Linked DNA regions of Homo sapiens: all the other regions are linked to region 1. Evidence: promoter capture Hi-C in 16 types of primary human blood cells and fetal thymus (Javierre and others, 2016). All regions are on one chromosome and are shown on one strand. Each heading gives the region's core, a stretch centred on a gene start or on the middle of the fragment in contact. The rest is flanking DNA. Distances are from core to core; before and after follow the strand shown.

Region 1 (4,400 bases), core at 1,347-3,846:
GACATAGCTGGTGTGTCCCAGTAAGGGCAGGGTGGCCAGTGTGGACTCAGGCAGAGTGAAGGAGAGAGAAGAGTAAATAAGTCAGAGTTAATACGGAACCAAATATCACAGGTCATTGGAATAATTTGGCTTTCACTTGGGAGGGATGAGGAAGAAGCAGGGTTTTCACCCCAGGGGTGATCTGACAAATTTGCATAGGATCACACTGGCTGAGAATAGACTGTAGAGGGGCAAAGGGTGAAACTGGGAGTTGGGAGGTTACTGGAGTAATGTGAATTAGAAGTATTGGTTGTTTGGACCAAGATGGTAGCAGGGGAGGTGGTGAGAGATGGTGAGATTATGGTTTTAAAATGGTGCTGATGGGATTTGGGATGGATTGGAAAGGAGGTATGAGAGAAAGAGAGAAGGGGAAAAAATGACTCCACATTTTTGGCTTGAGCCAAGACTACAGGAGGAAGAGATTTCAAGGGGAAGATTAATAGTTTGGTCATGAGATAGCTTTTAGACATCTGAGTGGTGGTGTTAAATTGCCAGTGGATTTAAGAGTCAGAAGGTCAGGAAAAAGTTCATGGCTAGAGATATAAATATGGGAGCTATTAGCATGACATTGGAGGGCATACAGATGTCATTAAAAGCCACGAGACTGGATAAAATCACCAAATGAATACATTCAGATAGAAAAGTGAAGAGGAAAAAAGACTGACTCCTAGGCCACTATAACTTCTAGGGGTTAGAAAAGTGAGGAGTAACCAGGAAGGAGACTGAGAAGAAATGGCCATGAAGGAGGAAGAAACCCAGAAGAGTGAGGTTTCTGGAAGCCAAGTCAAGAATGTTTTAAGACACACGACCTGACAACTGGGCCAAATGCTACTGACAGAGGTGTTGTGAACTGCTATGAACTGAATGTGTGTGTCCCCCAAAATTCATATGCTGAAATCCTAGTTCCCAATGTGATAGTATTCAGAGACAGAGTCTTTGGGAGGTAATTAGCTAATGAGGGTAGAACCTTCATGAATGGGATTAGTGCCCTTATAAGAAGATAGGGCACTAATCTGTGTTTCCTCTTTCTGTGCTCTCTGCCATGTGAGGATACACAAGAAAACAGCTGTTTTCAAACCAGGAAGAGGATCCTTGCCAGACACTGGATCTGCCTGCATGTTGATCTTGGACTTCCCTGCCTCCAGAACCGTGAGGAATAAATTCTGCTGTTTAAGCCACCTAGTCTAAGCAGCCTGGACTAAGATAAGAACTGACCTTTGTGTTTAGCAGCATGAAGATCACAGGTGACCTTGGGCAGTTTCAATGCAGCAGAGGAGACAAATGTCCAAATGGAAGTTCAAAAGAAAATGAGGGGAGAGAAATTGGAAGCACCAGTATAGGCCATTCTTCAGTTTCACTTTCAAGAGATAGAGTGGAAAGAGGGGAGGGAAGAGTAAAAGAAACTCCCTCTCTCTGTGTGTGTGTGTGTGTGTGTGTGTGCGGTTATATGCCCACTGGAAAGGTTTAGTATAGCCTACTGGCAGCACCAGGCAGAAAATGAATGTGAGAAAAATGAACAAAAATGCCCCAGAACCATGTATACATGGGCCATGGAATGAATTCACACATGGCTCCTGTATCAATGGGGAAATGCATTGCGGGAGGGAAGGTGCCTGGGTTAGGCCTCACAGGCCTAATGCCTTAAAGGTTTTAGATTCAAAAGGCAGAAATAATGAGCCTGCCGAGTAGCACAGTGGAGGTTCTCATGATGTGCCAGGTCAAAATGTGGTCTAGCAGCCTTTTCAGAGAGGTTAGTTGAGAGGGGTGGTTTTACAGAACGCTGCAGTTGCTATCATCATCATCATCATCATCATCATCGTCATCAAGTAGCAATTAATAATCAAATAGCAATTAAGTGCCTAATTTTTTGTACCACCTCATAAATCAATATAGGGGGGCTTGTTCCCTGGGGGAGCTACTTTGATGAGAAGCAGCAGTATAAAAGACCGGAAAGTCAAAGATTGGGGAAAGGCAGGCGTGGGGCAGAGGCAGAAGGCTCTTGCCAAACCATCCTGCCTCAGTTCCTGATTTTTCACCCTGCCTCTCCAAGCGCGGGAGTGGAGGATCCTTTCCCTCCCACTTCCTCCTTTGCTCTTTACCCCTCCCCCTCCCCCCCCCTTTTTTTTTTTTTGCTGTCCTCCTGGAGCAGGGCTGGTTCTGAAGCTTGGCGGCAGCCCCTACCTGCTGACCCACCGCCTCCGGGCGCACGGGAAGAGGACTGAGAGCCCTGAAACCCCAGCGGGGCAGGAGCCAGCATTCTGAGCATGTGCGAGCCAGCCAGGGGGCTAGGGCGGATTTGGGGGGTCGACTTTAGGTCGTCGCCCTAAGCGCAAAGCGAAAGAGCGGTGAGAGCAGGGGCGGGCGACACTCCCCGGAGCGGTGCCCCTGCGCCCAGGGCGCAGCGACTGCGCCCTGCCCTGCGGGTGTGGGCGAGTTGGCCGCGTGTGTGCCTCGCTGTTTGACGCGAAGACGAGCCAATCAGGGCGGGCGGCCCGAGCTGCCATGTGACGGGCAAGGCGGCCCCTTTCCCCAGCGCGGCCAGAGGGAGGAGAGAACCGGGGCTCGCCGCGAGCCTTCGAGAGCAGCGGCCGCGGAGGAGGCGGCGGCGGCGGGCGGGAGCAGCGGCGGCGGCGGCACAGGCTCGGGGCCAGCCGGGCGCGCATCCCCGGGCGCCCTGCGCGGTGGAGAGCTTGGCGGGCTGCGGGTGCCGCAGGACAGGAGTGGACAAAGCAAGATGGCAGGGATCTTAGCCTGGTTCTGGAACGAGAGGTTTTGGCTCCCGCACAATGTCACCTGGGCGGACCTGAAGAACACGGAGGAGGCCACCTTCCCGCAGGCTGAGGACCTCTATCTCGCTTTTCCCCTGGCCTTCTGTATCTTCATGGTGCGGCTCATCTTCGAGAGGTAAGAAGGGCTGAAGCCCCTCCTCCCCTCCCCCTGCGCACACACACGCGCGCACACACTCGCGCGCTCTCTGGCGCACGCCCCCGCGCCCCCAACGCTCGCGTTCACGCCTCCCAACCTTTGTGTTCGGGGAGGGGTTGCTGACCCCCCTGCCCCGCTGGCTTTCTGGGAGCCAGAAAGGGTCTGGCTTGCCACGGATTTCCTCCCGGGCGCCGGGGAGGAGCCGCGGAGCGTTAGGGTCGCCCCCTGCCCTCCTCCTGGGCCCTGCTCTCCTCCCGGCAAGGGCAGGCGAACAAAGGTGAGCGGTGGTCGGGCTCAGGACCCGCCGCATTCCGCGGGGCTCGCCCCTCTCCGCCGGCGCGCCACGCAAGGCTGCCAGGCAGGGCTTCCCGCCGGGGCCCGCGCCACCCACCTGACAGCCAGGAACGTTCCGGACGCGCGGCCCGGAGGGAGGAGGAACCGCGCACACTTCAATCTTTATGCTCCGGCACACGGATTGTAGGGGTTGTGCTTCAAAAGAATTCGCCAGGGACTTCCTGGCTTCTGGTCGCTGTTTGGTTTTTATCCGTGAAACTATCAGGCCCACAGTCCTGGCAAATAGGGGATAATAGCATTTCAGGTTATTAGCGGTTTCTTTAAAAGAGGATGTGACAGGACGGGTCCACATCCTGCAAAATGGTGATATTAAACTGATAACCCTGTCCTGTGAATAATCATAAACTTCTTTTTTGGTACTCGAAGGCACTTAAAATTTTGAGGAATTGTCATGCAATTGTATAGTTCCTCGGTTTGGTTGGATATCTCCATTGTGTCACATACAAACTTGTGTTATTCTCATGGAATTCGTTTTCGTCGCGAAACTAGATTGTGCCTGCCATGCATTCTCTGGGTGCTACTGAAAGAAAACCAGGACAGCAGCACACTTTTTTTTTCGTAACAGAAAATATTATCTTCCCCTTTCTTGTACCCTCCCCTTCCTCTGCCCAATTCATCAGTAAAGGCTGAATTTCTTAGATCACAAAGTAGAGTTTAGATTGCATTTCTCGCTTCCACTCCGCCTTTCTTCCCCGCCTTCAACTCACCTTGGTTTTGTTTCTTAAGCTTTTGCTGGTACCTCATTTGCTGTTCCTCTTTGCCTGAAAACGACTGTTGAGGGTGGCAGAACGCGTCTTTTGAGTCATTTGCTGCTGGACGAGGCAACAAAGCTTCATGGGGACAAAAAGTATCTTTTGTCTCAGGAAGGTATATTTTTCACCGGACAGTATTGTTGCTTGAAAACGAAGTCAGCTGTTCGCCTGCAGAAATTGACATGCACAAAGCAACAGACTTTAAGACCTATGTTTAAATTATTGGAATCTAATACAGATGTGTCATTGATCCTATACAAAAAAGGATCAAAAAAGTCACAGCAGTGCTGTGAAAAAATGGGTGTGTTTGCAGGTGTAGAGTTACCTCTA
Region 2 (4,400 bases), core at 739-3,238, 210 kb after region 1:
AACAGCCACAAATTCTACAAGTGTTCATTTTTCCTGAAGTGTATGAGTCTCTTAAGGTATTTAAATTTTAGACTTCCCATGATACTAGCTTCTGCTCTAGCATTTTATGAAAAAAAAAATAAGGAATTGAAATACGGTGGGTATAACATAAGTTATTTAAACATTTACTACCAATTACTTAAGTTTTTGCTTAGCAATAATTGTAATAAGAGGCTGCCTTTGCTGACTGAGCCAGGTAAGTGCTGTTTGTGGAAGCTCGTCCCATGGGAGATCTCATGGGACACACAGCACCCTCGGATGGTGGGAACTATTGTATCTCTCATTAACAGATGAGGAAATACTCCCCAGCCCTCCCTAGTAACCTAATCTCCCCCTTAACCTTCTCTTCATTTTCATTTTTCCAACATGCTCATCACCTTCTCTCTTACTGTATTTATCTGTTGATTTATTTTGCCTGCTCTGCACAGTAAAATAGAAGCTCTGTGAGGCCAAGTATCTTTACATGTTCACTGCTGTATACTACATACCTACAACAGTGACTGACATACAGTAGTCAGTAAACTCTCACTGAAATAAAACAAGATTATGCAACTAGTAAGTGAACGAACTACAGTTTGAGCCCAAGAGGTCTAGCTCAAGAAGTTATATACTCTGAATTATTATGGCATATTATCTTCCAAGCTGCTCACATTTTCTGTTGGCAAAGTGATGTTATTAAATAACTTGGAGGTTTTAAGAATTTTTTTAAAAAATTAGTAGACTGTGTGTGTGTGTGTGTGTGTGTGTGTGTGTGTGTGTGTAGTTTTAGGTTTAGAGAAAAATTGAATGGAAAATATGGAGTATTCCCATATACCCTTCACCCTGCCATCATCACCCCCTGACCCCTGCACTCCCCAGTTTTCCCTTTTATTTACATCTTGCATTATTAGTGGTACTTTTGTTACAGTTGATGAGCCAATATTAAAACACTATTGTTGGCTAAAGTGCATAGTTTACATTAAGGTTCACTCTTAGTGTTGTATATTCTATGGATCTGGACAAATGTATAATGACATGCATCCACCATTACACTGTCATGGAGAGTAGCATTGTTGCCTTAAAAATTTTCTTCTCTGCCTGTTCATCCCTTCCTTCCTCCCTAGACCTGGCAACCACTCATCTTCTTACTTTCTCCAAAGTTTTACCTTTTTCAGAATGTCATATAATTGGAATCATACAATATGTAGACTTTTCAGATTGGCCTCTTTCACTTAGTAGTATGCATTTAAGCTTCTTCCATGTCTGTTTTGTGGTTTGATGGCTCACTTCTTTTCTTCTTACCTCTGAATCATATTCCATTGTGTGTATATACCACAGTGTATTCATCTGACAGACATCTTGGTTGCTTCAATATTTTGGTATAAACATTTATGTGAATGTTTTCATGTGGGCGTGAGTCTTCAGTTCATTTGGATAAATACCAAGGAGTGTGATTGCTAGGTCAAACAATATTCATTTTCACTGTGTCTTTATAAAGGGCCTGCATTGAGAACCCACATTGAGAAGCAGTTTAAATTTGAGTGAGGCATGCATGAGTGGTGCCACGTTTCCTTTTTCAGGTTCTCCTCTCTTGGAGTCTCCTAAAACCATATTCCAATGCTGTGTATAAAAGGCCTGAGATATTCATAAACTAAGAAGACACTGTTTCTCAAGGGCTCAAACGAGTTCTCATGCTGTCAGCATGTCATAATATTAATAATGCATATCTTGTGTTTATATTGTGCTATATCATGCCAGTTAAGAGGTAATCTACATACATTTGATAATCTTTGTTAATTCTCACCAAAAATAAGATTTATGTCACAAAAAGCTGGCAAAAGTTTTCACATATGACATGGATAAGGCTCCTCTGTTTTCTACACTATAGCTTGTCATTATTTTATTTTTTCTTTTCATTATAAATTAAGCAAAGCAATATATTTCGGATTGGGATTTTCTGTGTTTAACAGGTGGATGTTCCATGCTGTCCTAGTGACATTTAGAAAACCTTTAAGCAGGAAAACCCCAGATCTTATCTGCCCGTGCACTTTGTCAGTTTCTTGCACAGGCGAGGGTGAACAAGTAGCACAGCATCTCAGTTCTGTTTTATAGGTAAAGTGGCCATTGTGTTCTGGTGGCTTAGAGAGGTTTCCTGTAGTGCTTTTCTTTATCCACCCAAGCCCAGCCCTGCCTCTTGAGCCTTCTTCCATGTCACACTCTCCTGCCTGCCTTTACCAAATGTGAGCTATCAATTCTGCACTCGATATGTTTTGTCACATGAAATAAAAGTTATCAGAGACTTGAGTGCATTTGTTCCTCTTTTCTTATATAAAGCTCTCTGCTTCTGTTGGCTATTAGGCGGCTTTTTTTCTATCTTTTTTTTTAAATATGTTCTCTCTAATGGATGACACTACTGCATTATTCACCCAGCCCTGACAACTCGGAGTCATCATTGATTCCTTTCTGTGTTCCAGATAAGGAAAATGGAGGAAGCAAAAATACAGGTATCGGGTGTGAGCCTCCGTTAATTAAGTATTGGTGTGCTTATCAGTTTTAATTTACTACATCCAAGATAATAGGCTAGACCTTCAAATAGTTCTGTCTAGTATGGGAGGCAGACAGGTGAACAGATATTTAAAGTAAAATGGATACATATTGTGAAAGAAATATGCATGGAGGGACCTTCTGTGAAGCTTGTTTGGGGGAACCTCTGAACAGTCATGTGTGACTTGAGCATAATATTTGTATTTGGTGGGGCCTTGTAGGCAGAGACAGAGATGTTAACAGACAAATCTGAAAAAGTAGGTGGAGGGCAGATCGTAAGTTGTAAATCGATTTGAGGTTGAAATCATGATAAGGAGCCCGGGCTTTATTGAGTAATTGGTGTGGAATCAACAGATGTTTTTCAAATGCAGAAGAACAAGTGAACCTGGATTACCAGCCTCTTTTCTGATTTTCTTCTTGACTTTGCATTGTATCCCATAGGTAATCTCAAATGTTCTTCAATGACAAAACCAAACTCATTCTCTTTCCTAACCCCATTATTCCTACTCTGATTTTCCTCATCTTATTTATGGTCTCACCATCTGCAGCAGTCACCCAAGCTAGAGATCTTGGGATCATATTTACCTCCTCTTTATCCATTATTCCATGGTCAACAAGACAGCATGTCCTAAGGAGTCCTTCTGTGAATGGAGCTTTAGTTCATTGCTTGCACTCCATTTCCAACTCTATCTTTTTTTTTTTTTTTTTCTGGAGACAGAGTCTCATTCTGTCGCCCAGGCTGGAGTTCAGTGGCATAATCTGTACTCACTGCAGCCTCTGCCTCCTGAGATCAAGCAATTCTCCTGCCTCAGTCTCACGAGTAGCTGGGATTACAGGTACCTGCCACCGTGCCCAGCCAATTATTTTTCTTAATTTTTTTAGTAGAGATGGGGTTTCACCGTGTTGGCTAGGCTGGTCCCGAACTCCTGACCTCAGGTAATCTGCCCACCTCGGCCTCCCACAGTGCTGGGATTACAGCTGTGAGCCACCATGCCAGGCTGCAACTCTAATCTTTTATCAATTTAGAAGTATTAAACTATGCTAATTATTATTTAGTATACAGAGCTCAGGTGAATTATTTTACTTTATTGCTTCAGCATATGGGGCTGAAATGTTATTAGATTTTTTTTATATGCTAGAATTATACATATGCATGACTTTTGAGATATTGGGGGAAAATGTCAGTGCATTAGAAATTCACAGGATGGGTACTGTAAACCATTGAAATCTTTATCTGACTTTGTATGTCCCTCGCTGTTCCTCTCTAGTACATTAGTTAGGATTAGGTCTGGAACACCTAACAGTCAATCAGTCATAGTGGCTTAAACAAGAAAAAAGTTTATTTCTCATGTTAAAGAAGTCTGAAGTCTGATATGATGGTTCCATTATGTTATTAAGGATATGGGGACTCTCTGTCTTTATGCTCTACCACATTGGTACACAGCTTCTATCTTCCAGATTATTTCCTGGTGCAAGATGGCTGCTGGAACTCCAGCCAGCACATCAATGAAACAATTCCCCAAAAGGAGGAAAAGGTAGATAGCTAAAAAGTTGTTATCCAGCTAAGTCATCTCTTGTTAAACAGCCTTTATGGACATTCCACACACCATTTTCACTTCATAGACCAGAACTGAGTCACAGGGCCCTATCTAACTGCAAGAAGGCTGAGAATTGTCATCTTTGCTTTTTCAGGAGACAGTATGTTCAACTTAATGTTGGGGTTCTATAATTATGGAAGAGAAGGGAGAATGATGTTGGTGTAGGCAATTAGAGGAGGAGGACAAGCAGCTCTGCTCAAGATAGATAAAGCCACCCTCTTCATACTGAGCAAAATAAAC
Region 3 (4,400 bases), core at 959-3,458, 210 kb before region 1:
TTGTTCTCTTTTGTCATTTAAACATAAGAGACAGGCTTGAGAATATTTATAAACTGAGGGAAAAGCAAAGAGGGAAAGAAGGAGACAGGGAAGCAATGGTGATGACTTTATCTGAAAATGAAGGCCTCTGTCCTCGCACTGGCTGGGACACACAGGGAGCGTTTCTTTTAGTCAGCAGCATTTCCTGCCAGCATGGCAGCCTCCGGGCAAACTCAGAGGTGGAGGAAAAGTGCAGTCCTAGCAGGTTGTTCTCGGAGCCCTCTCATAATGGGCTGCTCCTCTTCAGCAACCTTCCCGCAGGATGCTCTCATCACTTGTCAGAGGGCCATTTGGCACCTAAACCCCTGAGCTGTCCAAATTGCCAGGAGCTCCACAGGTCTCTTCAGTTTCCTCCCACAGCAGTGGAGGTGCAAGGGGAAGCCAGATCCCCAGGGGCCTCTCCCCTTGTAAGCCCCTTCCAGCAGCCCAGCACAAGAGTGGGAATAGGGAACAACCTCTCTTTCCCACTTCCTCCCTGCTAGAAACATAGCACAGAAATCTTCAAGCCACTCCAGAATCCTGCCAAAGATAGGACTGTGTTCTCTCCTGATAACTTGCATCTGATTAGCAAATGAAGTCTATAGAAGTTATGGCTAAGACTAATTGAAAGCATGCTGTGTGCCAGGCACGATTCTCAGTGCTTTACATTCTCTCATTCCTCACAACCCTATTTTTATCATCCCTATGTTACCAATGAGGAAACTGAGTGCAGACACATCTAAGTCATTTGCTCAAGGTCGCAGCGTCAGTGACCGCCATTGCAGGACATGAAACAGGCCAGGCTGTCAGACTCCAGAGCCGGCACTGCTGCAACTTATTTTCAAACACCATCACAAAATGTACTATACAATAAACCATAAAAGTCAGGGAAGAATTCATAATATCACTAGTTAAAAATCAAATGCATAAATAAAGGATTGCAGTCACTTTACCACAGTTTCAAGAGAGATCTTGAGATCTCTCCCCCCAGCCCCATGACAGCACATTTAAAAGAGTATTTATCTTGTAAATATAATTAATGCTACTGAATTGCACACTTTAAGAACGGTTAAAATGGTACAATTTTTGTTGTGTATATTTTACCACAATAAAAATAATACAAAAGAGGCCGGGCACAGTGACTCACGCTGTAATCCCAGCAACTTGGGAGGCTGAGGCAGGCGGGTTACTTCAGACCAGGAGTTTGTGACCAGCCTGGCCAACATGGTGAAACCCTGTTTCTATCAAAAAATACAAAAATTAGCCAGGCCTGTAATACTAGCTACTCGGGAGGCTGAGGCAGGAGAACTGCTTGGACCTAGGAGGCAGAGGCTGCAGTGAACTGAGATGGCGCCACTGCAATCTAGCCCAGGCAACAGAGCAAGACTCTTACAAAAAAAAAAAAAAATATATATATATATATATATATATATATATATATATAAAGAGGCCAGGCACAGTGGCTCACGCCTGTAATCCCAACACATTGGGAAGCCAAGGCCGGAGCATCGCTGAGCGGAGGAGTTCAAGAGCAGCTTGGGCAACATAGTGAGACCCCCATTTCTTAAAAATAAAAAAAGAAAAAAAAAATTAGGCAGGCATGATGGTTTGCACCTATAGACCCAGCTACTCAGGAGGCTGATGTGGGAAGATCACTTGAGCCCAAGAGTTCGAGGCTGCAGTGAGGTATGATTGCACCACTGCACTCTAGCCTGGGTGACAGAGTGAGACCCTTTATCAAAAAAAAAAAAATACAAAATACAAAAGAACATTTCTATATACATTTTTCTATTTATTAAAAAAGAAAGTGAAATGAAATGAAAATCAAAGCCCTGTCTTGAGACAAAGCATTTCAGACATCATTTAGTATTTTAAAAACAACAACAAACAAACTAATCAAGATCAAAGAACCCACTGCAGCAGCAAGGCAGCCTGGTATAAAGGTCTGGGAGATCAGAACACACTCAGTGCTCCGGCTCCCTTACCCTAGCGCCAGCGAAGGTACCACTGTCCTCAAACTGCCTCTAGGATATCTATAAAAACCAATTCTAACCCCCAAACCATAGAAATCCACAGAAACTCTGAGAGCACAGAGCAAAGTGGGAATGCCCAGGGCTATTTACAATCTCATTTTACAAGAGGCTGTTGCTCCTTAAAGACCTGGCCATATGTGCTATTACCTGGACCTGAGTAAAACGCACCTGAATGGATAAACAATGCCTCACAGGAGAGAAATAAAGCATTCAAAGGAACCCTCTGTCAAACCATGTCCAGGATTCTAGAACTCAAATTCTTCGTGTTGACTAAGATGGCAATTTGTTACTTTTAGGTCATTCTAAATGACCACCCGGGACAAAAGTGAAGCAATGCTGAGAAATCTAGTATAAAACTACATAAAGAAAGGTGCATCCTGCAAAAACCCTAAGAAAATCAAACAAACTCCTGCTGAGGCAGGAGTCTAGGGTTTCTCAGAAGAAATTCAGCAAAGATAACAACATTGCTGGAATCACCTAATTCAAATACAGAAATTAGTACTTCAATGACTACAATTCTTTGAATGAGAAGTTCATTGAGGCTGCTCCATTCCATTACGGATGGCCAAGTAAACACTTATATGATTCACTTTCATTCCCTGTTTAGCAAATCTAGGTAATATTATTAACACCCCCAACAAATAAACTAAGTTTTCAACTGGCATAGCTTTAAGTGCCCCTTATACTTCTAAAGGTAGGGGTACCTACTTTTGGGGGCTCAACTCACCCCCAAATTCCTTCTTTAGAGAGGTAAGGAACAAAGATTAACAAGGCTGAAGAGTATAAACAGGTCGGAAAGCCTCCAAAAAGACAGAAATATTTGAAATCTACTAAGACAAGGATATCAATGTCTGGAAGAAGGAATTTAATAATTTCCAACATTTTTAACCCCTCTGTAAATATAAAGCTCCCTCCCATCGATTTTACATCATTTCCAGGTCATGAATAAACTTATGAACCAGAATACTCCTAAGAGCATTACAATTTCTCCACTGACGTTTTAAAACACAAGAACAACAATACAATAAAGAGAAAACTTTATTTTTAGGTTTGCAAAATCCTGTGTTTATTTTTCTAAAACTGAAGTCAAACAACTGAACCTGCTTTGTTTGGATTTTAGTAAACTTATTCTCTCTTAATCCTGGGGGACCAAACTCTGCCCAGAAGGAAATGAAGAAAAAGTCCTCCGTGCCCGTGCCATGCTGGAAAGTTAAAACACGGTGCCTCCTTTGGTTTTCTGTTCAGGCACATCTGAGCCTCCTGCTGCTGGTCACGGTTCACACTGCTGGAGTCATATCATATGACACCTGCCGTATGGCGGGTAGAAGCAAAGGCTGTCAACTGGCATTCATGTTGAAACTGGTTCAGTGTTTGAACTGCTAACTTCTGCGTGTAATGTTTAAGCAAAAGTGCTTAACCACAAGTTCAGTCTTAATCTCTCAACTAGCATTAAACCCTAAATGGAAACAGGTTTGTAATTCCTTATAAACATTAAGCCCTTGCGAAAAACCTATTCCAGCAATTTGATTTTTCAATAACAGGGCCTCCACACAGGCCAACTCTTTCTCTTTTAGTTGGGAAAATATGAGATAAACTTTAAATGTAGAAAAGCCCTTCCCACAATGCAAATGCGCAAAAGTCAGGGTAGAATAAGCAGGTGTTTTTGTTCTCAAATTCCTCAGGTAAATTTCTTTTTTTCCACTAAACTGACCAACCATAATTAACACTGCTGGGACTGCAAACAGAAAGAAGTCCTGCCATTAATCCCACTCAACTTAAACTAAGATTTTATTAGTTCACAAAAAAATACTGTTTTCAAAAGGCAACGTTTGTATTTTAACCCTAATAATTGACCAAGTAGGTATATAAATTGATTATAACTTCTCCCAATCCTATGGACTCTATGGAGAATTATGTGGCAGATACCATTATTCAACTTTTATGGCCCACCTCTTCCTGTCAGAGTTCACAGCTGGTTAGTGAAGGCAACAGTGGAAATAATTAAGCACCTTACAAACTCAGACTTAAAACCCAGCTCAACTACGACCTCTACTAAGAAATACTCTGCTTCCTTCTCTTTCCTGGCAGTCACTCCCTCCTTCGGGCTCTCCCAGTACTTACTCATCACATCCTATAGGATCCTTTCCCTATGTCTCCTAACAACTTAGGGCAGGGATCACTTTTGTTAATTTCTATATTGCTAGCAAGTGGGGCAATGCTTGGGACACAGCAGGCCTTCAGATCTTGTTGCGCAAATAACAACTATGAGGTTACATGCTATGAGGTCTGTAAAAAGAGGGGCAGAAGAAACCACGGCATTTTGCCTTGAAAGAAGCAGAAGGCTTTTCA
Region 4 (4,400 bases), core at 873-3,372, 160 kb after region 1:
CAGATTTCTCAGCAGAAATCCTACAAGCTAGAAGGGATTGGAGACCTATCTTCAGCTTCCTCAAACAAAACAATTATCAGCCGAAAGTTTTGTATCCAGTGAAACTAAGCTTCACAAATGAAGGAAAGATACAGTCTTTTTCGGTCAAACAAATCCTGAGAGAATTTGCCATTACCAAGCCAGCACTTCAGGAACTGCTAAAAGGAGCTCTAAATTTTGAAACAAATTCTGGAAACACATCAAAACAGAACCTCTTTAAAGCATAAATCTCACAGGATCTATAAAACAAAAATACAATTTAGGAAAAAAAAATAAAAATCCAAGGTATACAGGCAATAAATAGCATAATGAATGCAATAGTACCTCACATCTCAATACTAACATTGAATGTAAATGGCCTAAGTGCTCCACTTAAAAGATACGGAATGGCAGAATGGAGAAGAATTCACCAACCAACTATTGCTGCCTTCAAGAGACTTACCTAATACATAAGGACTCACATAAACTTAAGGTAAAGGAGTGGAAAAAGACTTTCCATGCAAATGGACACCAAAAGCGAGCAGGAGTAGCTATTCTTATATTAGACAAAACAAACTTTAAAGCAACAGCAGTTAAAAAAGACAAAGAGGAACATTATATAATGATAAAAGGCCTTGTCCAACAGGAAAATGTCACAATTCTAAATATTTATGCACCTTACACTGGAGCTCCCAAATTTATAAACAGTTACTACTAGACCTAAGAAACGAGATAGATGGCAACACAGTAATAGTGGGGACTTCAGTACTTCACTGACAGCATTAGACAGGTCATCAAGACAGAAAGTCAACAAAGAAACAATGTATTTTTACTATACCCTGGAACAAATGGACTTAATAGATATTTACACAACATGCTACCCAACAACCACAGAATATGCATTTGATTCATCAGCACATGGAACCTTCTCCAAGACAGACCATATGATAGGCCACAAAAGTCTCAATAAATTTAAGGAAATTGAAATTATATCAAACATTCTCTGAGACCACAGCAGAATAAAAGTGGAAATCAACTCCAAAAGGAACCTTCAAAACCATGCAAATACATGGATATTAAATAACCTGCTCCTGAATGATCATTGGGTCAGAAATGAAATCAAGACGGAAATTTAAAAATTCTTCAAACTGAATGACAATAGTGGCTCAACCTGTCAAAACCTCTGGGATACAGCAAAGGTGGTGCTAAGAGGAAGGTTCATAGCCCTAAATGCCTACATCAAAAAGTCTGAAAGAGCACACACGGACATTCTGAGATCACACTTCAAGGAACTGGAGTAGCAAGAACAAACCAAACCCAAACCCAGCAGAAGAAAGGAAATAACCAGAATCAGAGCAGAACTAAATGAAATTGAAACAAAAAAAATTGCAAAAGATAAATGAAATAAAATGTTGGTTATTTGGAAAGATAAAGAAAATTAATAGACCATTAGCAAGATTAACCAAGAAAGGAAGAGAGAAAATCCAAATAAGTTCAATTAGAAATGAAACAGGAGGTATTACAACTGACACTACAGAAATACAAAAGATCATTCAAGGCTACTATAAACACCTCTACACCCGTAAACCAGAAAACCTAGAGGAGATAGATAAATTCCTGGAAAGATACAACCCTCCTAGCTTAAATCAGGAAGAATTAGACACCCTGAACGGACCAATAACAAGCAGTGAGATTCAAATGGTAATTAAAAGCTTAGCAACAAAAAAAAGTCCAAGACCAGATGGATTCACAGCTGAATTCTACCAGACATTCAAAGTACGATTGGTACCAATCCTATTGACTCTATTCCACAAGGTAGAGAAAGAAGGAATTCTCCCTAAATCATTCTGTGAAGCCAGTGTCACCCTAATACCAAAACCAAGAAAGGACATAACCAAAAAAGAAAACTACAGACCAATATCCCTGATGAACATACATGCAAAAATCCTTAACAAAGTACTAGCTAACCAAATCCAACAACATGTCAAAAAGATAATCCAGCATAATCAAGTGAGTTTCATACCAGGGATACAGGAGTGGTTTAACATACATCAGTCAATAAATGTGATACAACACATAAACAGAATAAAAACAAAAATCACACGATCATCTCAATAGACCAAGAAAAAGCATTTGACAAAATCCAGCATGGCTTTATGTTTAAAACCCTTAGCAAAATTGGCATTCAGCAGACATACCTGAATGTAAGAAAAGCCATCTATGATAAACCCAGAGCCAAAATAATACTGAATGGGGAAAAGTTGAAAGCATTCCCTCTGAAAACAGGAACAAGGCAAGGATGCCCACTTTCACCACTTCTCTTCAACATAGTACTGGAATCCAAGCCAGAGCCATCAGACAAGAGAAAGAAATAAAAGGCATCCAAATCAGTCACAAGGAAGTCAAACTGTGGCTGTTTGCTGATGATATGATTATATACCTGGAAAACCCTAAAGACTCCTCCAAAAAGCTCCTAGAACTGATAAAAAATTCAGCAAAGCTTCTGGATACAAAATTAATGTACACAAGTCAGTAACTCTCGTATACACCAACAGCGACCAAGTGGAGAATCAAATGAAGAAATCAACCCCTTTTACAGTAGCTGCAAAAAGAATAAAATACTTAGGAATATATCTAACCAAGAAGGTGAAAGACCTCTACAAGGAAAACTGCAAAACACTGCTGAAGTAAATCATAGATGACATAAGCAAATGGAAACACATCTCATGCTCATGGGTGGGTAGAATAAATATTGTGAAAATGACCATACTGCCAAAAGCAATCTACAAATTCAGTGCAATTTCCATCAAAATACTACCATCATTCTTAACAGAACTAGAAAAGCAATCCTAAAATTTATATGGAACCAAAAAAGAGCCTACATAGCCAAAGCAAGACTATGCAAAAGAACAAATCTGGAGGCTTCAAACTATACTATAAGGCCATAGTCACCAAAACAGCATGGTACTGGTATAAAAATAGATACATAGACCAATGGAACAGAACAGAGAACCAGAAATAAAGCCAAATACTTACAGCCAACTTATCTTCAACAAAGGAAACAAAAACATAAAGTGGGGAAAGGACACCCTATTCAACAAATAGTGCTGGGATAATTGGGAAGCCACATGTAGGAGAATGAAACTGGATCCTCATCTCTCATCTACAAAACTCAATTCAAGATGGATGAAGGACTTAAATCTAAGACCTGAAACTTAAAAATTCCAGAAGATAACATTGGAAAAACCCTTCTAGACATTGGCTTAAGCAAGTTTTTCATGACCAAGAACCTAAAAGCAAATGCAGAAAAAACAGAGAAATGGCTGGGACTTAATTAAACTAAAGAACTTTTGCATGGCAAAAGGAAGTCAGCAGAGTAAATAGAGCACCCACAGAGTGGGAGAAAATCTTCGCAATCTATACATCTGACAAAGGACTAACATCCAGAATCTAAAAAGAACTCAAACAAATCAGCAAGAAAAAAAAATCAAACAATCCCATCAAAAAGTGGGTTAAGGACATTAATAGAGAATTCTCAAAAGAAGATATACAAATGGCCAACAAACAGGAAAAAATGCTCAACATCACTAATGATCAGGGAAATGCAAATCAAAACCACAATGTGATACCACCTTATTCCTGCAAGAATGGCCATAATAAAATCAAAAAGTAATAGACGTTGAGATGGATGCGGTGAATAGGGAACACCTCTGCACAGCTAGTGGGAATGTAAACTATTATAGCCACTATGGTAAAGAACTAAAAGTAGAACCATTTGATCCAGCAATCCCATTACTGGGTATCTACCCAAGGAAAAGAAGTCATTATGTGAAAAAGATACTTGCACACTCATGTTTATAGCTGCACAATTCACAATTGTGAAAATGTGGAACCAGCCCAAATGCCCATCAATCAACAAAGTGGACACAGTTTATTTATCCCCTCGTTGATTGATGGGCATTTGGGCTGGTTCCACAATCCATACACACACACACACACACACACACACACACACACACACACACACACACATATTTATATATATATGATCTAATACTACTCAGCCATAAAAAGAAATGAATTAATGACATTTGCAGCAACCTGGATGAGATTGGAGACTATTATTCTAAGTGAAGTAACTCAGGAATGGAAAACCAAACATCGTATGTTCTAACTTATAAGTGGAAGCTATGCGGATGCAAAGGCATAAGAATGACACAATAGATTTTGGGGACTCAGGGAAAGGATGGGAAGGGTGTGAGGGATAAAAGACTACAAATTGGGTTCAGTGTATACTGCTTGGGTGATGGGTGCACCAAAGTCTCACAAATTACCACTAAAGAACTTACTCATGTAACCAAATAACACCTATTCCTCAAAAA
Region 5 (4,400 bases), core at 1,032-3,531, 140 kb after region 1:
ACTATTCTTTCTCACGTGAATCTCTCCAGAGATTCTTCCCTGAGCCCCTGTGGAACTAATAATGAGCACTGCTAATTTTAGCCATTAGCCACTCTTTAGAATTATTCTCTACTTGTTTCATGTATCTTAATGTTTGTTTTTCCCCCAGCTAGACTGCCTGTGTATTCGGGCTGTGTTCAGTGAATGTATGGTGGTTTGCTGATTGATTCAAAGTGAATCTGAAGAATACACTTCCTTTCTTTGAGATTAAGAGAATTGCCTAGTGCTGTTTCAGGGCTGTGAGGATGCAGGTGCACTGGCTTGCAGCTGACTCTTAGGTACAGGAAGGCATCATGAAGGAAAGTGACCATTGTCCTCTATTGGAGTTTAGCCCTCTGTCTTGAAGAGACAGAAGCACCCTAACACTCAAAGCAGTTCATGGTTGCTTTTAAAAAAGTTTGCAGGGCCCAATTTCTGTGGCTTTTACTGGGGGAAGCATTACATAAGAGGACAAGGAGCACATGTATCCTATGCAGTGCTACAGAATAATTCCACTCCCAGCTCCTGACTTTCAGATGGTGAGATGTTTGGGAGAATATTTTCAGTCTGAAGAAAGTATTATTTATTGTTTAGTCTGAGCTTTTAGCCCACACTTCCCTTTCATGTGGTTTTTGCTTGAGAGTTCTTGGACCAAGGTTAGATTGAATGTTGAGACACTTTGGGGAGTGTAAAAATCAATGATTGAAAGAAAAGGTATAAATACCACAATTGCATTCATTCCTTTATCTCTTTATTCTCTTTTTTAATCCTGAATCTCCTTACATTGGATTATGTATAATACCAATTTTAATTGGCTGATTTTAGTGACAGCATTAAAATGTAAACTTAAATTTAAGGCTGATGGTACTTACGAAGAGTATCTCTCATTTAACATTTTCATTATACATTCAGATGTATTGCAGCAAATTGTAATGGTTTGAATTGATATCATCTTTACCTTGTCTTTATACAGACATCAAATAACATCTAATGTTTGACTCACATGAATATTGCCTTATAATTGGAAAAAAGTTATGTTGCTGTTTACATAGTTATTTAAGATTTGTGGAGATCAAAAAGAAGAATTGTATGTTTTTTTTCTTTTTGGCAGACCTTATTGTTCAATGTAAGTAGACTTAAGCGGACTTCATATTTTCTTCCAGATGTAAAGGAAAGGTGCCCAAATTGGCAAGACGTTAAAAATTATTATTAGGCCAGGCGTGGTGGCTCACGCCTGTAATTCCAGCACTTTGGGAGGCCAAGGCAGGAGGATCATGTGAGCCCAGGAGTTCAAGACCAGCCTGGGCAACAAAGCGAGACCCTGTCTCAAAAAAAAAAAAAAGGATAAAAATAAAAATTATCATTAAACTGCCAAAATTCAATATTTGTTTGTAAATGTTTATGCATCTGGCTAGTAGACTTGGATCCTAGTCATGAACCACAAAGAGAAGAGGTTCTGTGGTTATAAGATGAGTGGCTTTGGTTTTGGATCTTATTGAGGGTACCAAGTTTATTGCTGATCACAGGGTCATGTGGAATGGGACCTCAATAGGGTGGAGACCAGATTATGTGTGTGGGCGGGGGATTGGGGGGAGGGGTTGTTGTCTTCTTGGTGTAGTTTTTACTGGGCTTCCCAGCCTCCTTCCAGAAATTGTTCAGGGAAATGTAGATGAATGGCTTTGGCAGAACGTAACATGAGTGGGAAAATGTGAGATTAAAAGAAAAGCTTATATTCAGTACAGTGGCTTTTTTACTTGCCTTCATTCATTAAATCATTGTTTCAGGGCCCCATCCCCCCCCCTTTTTTTTTTTTTTTTGAGACTGAGTCTCACTCTATCATCCAAACTAGAGTGTAGTAGTGCAATCTTGGCTCACTGTAACTTCCACCTCCCTGGTTCAAGTGGTTCTCCTGCCTCAGCTTCCCGAGTAGCTGGGATTACAGGTGCGTGCCACCATACCCGGCAAATTTGTTGGTGTTTTTAATAGAGATGGGGTTTCACCATGTTGGCCAGGCTGATCATGAACGCTTGGCGTCCCAAAGTGCTGGAATTACAGGTGTGAACCACCATGCCCGGCTCCCATCCCTTTGTTGATGCACAAAATTTGGAGTTAAGAGCAAATGCTCTTAGAGTTCATGAAACTTTTTGTTTGCTCTAATATAAACTGAATTCAAGAATCCTTTTATTGTAGCAAAAGTGCATATACTCTACCTATTCTCTCTAAAAATACAATACTGTGTTCATGGCGTCTTTCCTGCTTCTTGAACTCCAATTGGTGAACATTGAAGTCAATATTCTGACTAATCTCTGACTCACTTTCACACTGCTATGAGTTTAGCTTTGTCGTGTCAGGCCCCTATTGACTTCAGTAGGGATGGCGCCAGGTTTGAGGCTGAAGAAGAGACCTGGAGCCAGTGAACAAGACATAGGGTTTTATTGGAGGGAACTTACATACAGGGACAGTCTGGTGGCAGCAGGCTTGACAGTAGAGCATTATTTATTATATAAATTGCATGCTTGTAAAAAGTATACAATTTATATAATATTTAAAGCACCCTCTAACAACCTCTGCCTGGCAACCTCCACTTAATCCAAAACAAAGAGGATCTTTCCCCTGCACACTCTCATTCCATGGACAGGCCAGGGGTTCAGATGTTCCACATAAATAAGTAATGAATCTGTCGGATGACCACTCCCGGATTCCTTAGCTCAGAACTCTGAAGACACATTCAGGTGTGTCTGCCTTACAGGGTCATTCTCAGGGTATGCTTAAGATATTGCCGTCAGGTGCATCTGCCATACAAGCTTCTACTTTTTTCAATTCCCAGATAACCATAGATGGTTGAAGGTAGGGTGCCCTTAGCTATAAGACACATCCTCCAGTTTCCCAATGATACAAAATATTCTGGGGCCACCTTGAATATGTAAAGTTTTAGAGATGAAACAATTGATATGTATATTAATAACATTAATATGTTTATTTAGACATAATGCTTTTCCTATTTACTTTCATGAAATAATTTATTCAAAGCCTGTATTTGCACCTTTGACATCATGTCTTTGTCAGAGGAGCTACCTCAGAGTCATCTAGGACAGTGTGCCAGAGTGCCTTCTCTTCCCTCCCGTCTAAATTGCATAGACTTTAATGTGTTTGGAATCCATGTAAGAAGTTATTTCTGTAAATGTTAACTCAGGCCTTAGCACTCTTTGCCTCTCTTTCAGACTTTTTTTTGTCCTTTATCTATAGGTGTATGTTGAGGATCTTCCACGTGTAACTCTTTTCTGTCCTCCCCTTAAGAGGGATCTTTAAAAGGTTTGTTTACAGTGATATCTAATACAAACAATTATGAAGTCACCACCCTAGAGATAATGCCTTAAGTATTTGTTAAATTTCTTTGCTCCCTTAGAATAGCTGCTTCCATCAGCTGACCTTCTTGAGCATCTCAAACTGGCATTGATTGAAGTTGTTTCAGATTTGAGTGTCTTCAAGGAATACTTCTTTGTTCTAAATAAAGTGCTTGAGAGAGTAGTCTATAAATAAGAGACTGTAATGACTTGAATATATGGCAACCTCGTTTTTGGGGGGAAGAGAAAACATATCTTCAGTTTATACGTGGCATAGTAATTAACCAGAGAGTTTTCTTTTTTTTTTCTTTTCCACATCTACTGGCCAAATTATTTATTTCCTTGTTATGCATTCCTATATATTTTTGATGGTAAAAAAAAATAATGGCAAGGGGCAAAAAAATAGTGGTTTACTGGAATATGGGAAATTTAAATAGCCTAATGATTATCACATGGTACTCGTAAACCCTAAATGATTAATATGTGGCAATCCAAGAATATAATGCCATCATATCTAATAAAACTACAGGATTAGTGAAAAAAAAGGTCCCAATTCCCCAACCAGTACAGAAAGAAAATTTAATAACGTAGCTTACAAGATTGTCTTCAATCTTCACTTCTGCAATATAGAGCTATCCCTTAATCTTTTTTTAATCTTAATTTGTTTAAAGTGGTGTCAAATATTGCGGTGATACAACATAGAACAATTAATATGAACATTTTCTTTTTAGAATCTGGTAAGTTTGGATAGAGTAGGTATAGAAGAATCTTACTGGAACATGGTCACAACTAATTCACCTCTCTGGAGACCTTTTCTGCCTCTCTAGCAAGAGAAACACATGTCAGAAGAGGCTCAGGAGAGGAAGCAGGCTGTGGTAATAACAGCACTTGACATTTGTGTAGCTCTGTGATTTTCAAGGAACTTTCGTGAGCATTGTTTAATTCCATCTTCACAACAATTCTGCGATGTAGGCTAGGGCATTAGAGGCATAACCTACTCTTCTGCCAACTCTGTTTTCAACATTTAAGGAAATGTTG

What was found. Contacts are between HindIII fragments. The CHiCAGO score rates a contact against its expected background, and 5 or more counts as called.
Region 2: a fragment that was not itself captured here is called in contact with the fragment with the promoter of CERS6 in region 1 in 16 of 17 cell types (activated CD4 T cells, naive B cells, fetal thymus and 13 more); the score reaches 15.2 in activated CD4 T cells.
Region 3: a contact is called between a fragment that was not itself captured here and the fragment with the promoter of CERS6 in region 1, in 2 of 17 cell types (fetal thymus and activated CD4 T cells). The highest score is 9.2, in fetal thymus.
Region 4: a contact is called between a fragment that was not itself captured here and the fragment with the promoter of CERS6 in region 1, in 2 of 17 cell types (non-activated CD4 T cells and naive B cells). The highest score is 5.8, in non-activated CD4 T cells.
Region 5: a contact is called between a fragment that was not itself captured here and the fragment with the promoter of CERS6 in region 1, in 9 of 17 cell types (naive B cells, activated CD4 T cells, total B cells and 6 more). The highest score is 10.3, in naive B cells.

What each region holds. Positions count from the first base shown.
Region 1 is chr2:168,453,676-168,458,075 of GRCh38, forward strand. CERS6 (ceramide synthase 6) reads left to right here and starts at 2,597. Exons shown (of 10, transcript NM_203463.3): 1 at 2,597-2,943. The coding sequence starts at 2,774. It overlaps LOC102724081 (a long non-coding RNA gene), which reads right to left. Exons shown (of 4, transcript XR_002959433.2): 1 at 3,356-4,400. RefSeq lists silencers at 2,189-2,408, 2,439-2,528, 2,649-2,778, 3,229-3,288. The HindIII fragment of the contact is 1,842 bases long and covers 2,201-4,042 here.
Region 2 is chr2:168,665,192-168,669,591 of GRCh38, forward strand. All of the region lies in intron 4 of CERS6 (ceramide synthase 6), which reads left to right. Among named protein-coding and RNA genes, the nearest start is that of MIR4774, 84 kb to the left of the region's middle. The HindIII fragment of the contact is 1,442 bases long and covers 1,268-2,709 here.
Region 3 is chr2:168,241,136-168,245,535 of GRCh38, forward strand. All of the region lies in intron 1 of STK39 (serine/threonine kinase 39), which reads right to left. Among named protein-coding and RNA genes, the nearest start is that of STK39, 4.3 kb to the right of the region's middle. The HindIII fragment of the contact is 5,114 bases long and covers 1-4,400 here.
Region 4 is chr2:168,616,014-168,620,413 of GRCh38, forward strand. All of the region lies in intron 3 of CERS6 (ceramide synthase 6), which reads left to right. Among named protein-coding and RNA genes, the nearest start is that of MIR4774, 35 kb to the left of the region's middle. The HindIII fragment of the contact is 788 bases long and covers 1,729-2,516 here.
Region 5 is chr2:168,594,737-168,599,136 of GRCh38, forward strand. The region is part of intron 3 of CERS6 (ceramide synthase 6); the gene reads left to right. Among named protein-coding and RNA genes, the nearest start is that of MIR4774, 14 kb to the left of the region's middle. The HindIII fragment of the contact is 1,078 bases long and covers 1,743-2,820 here.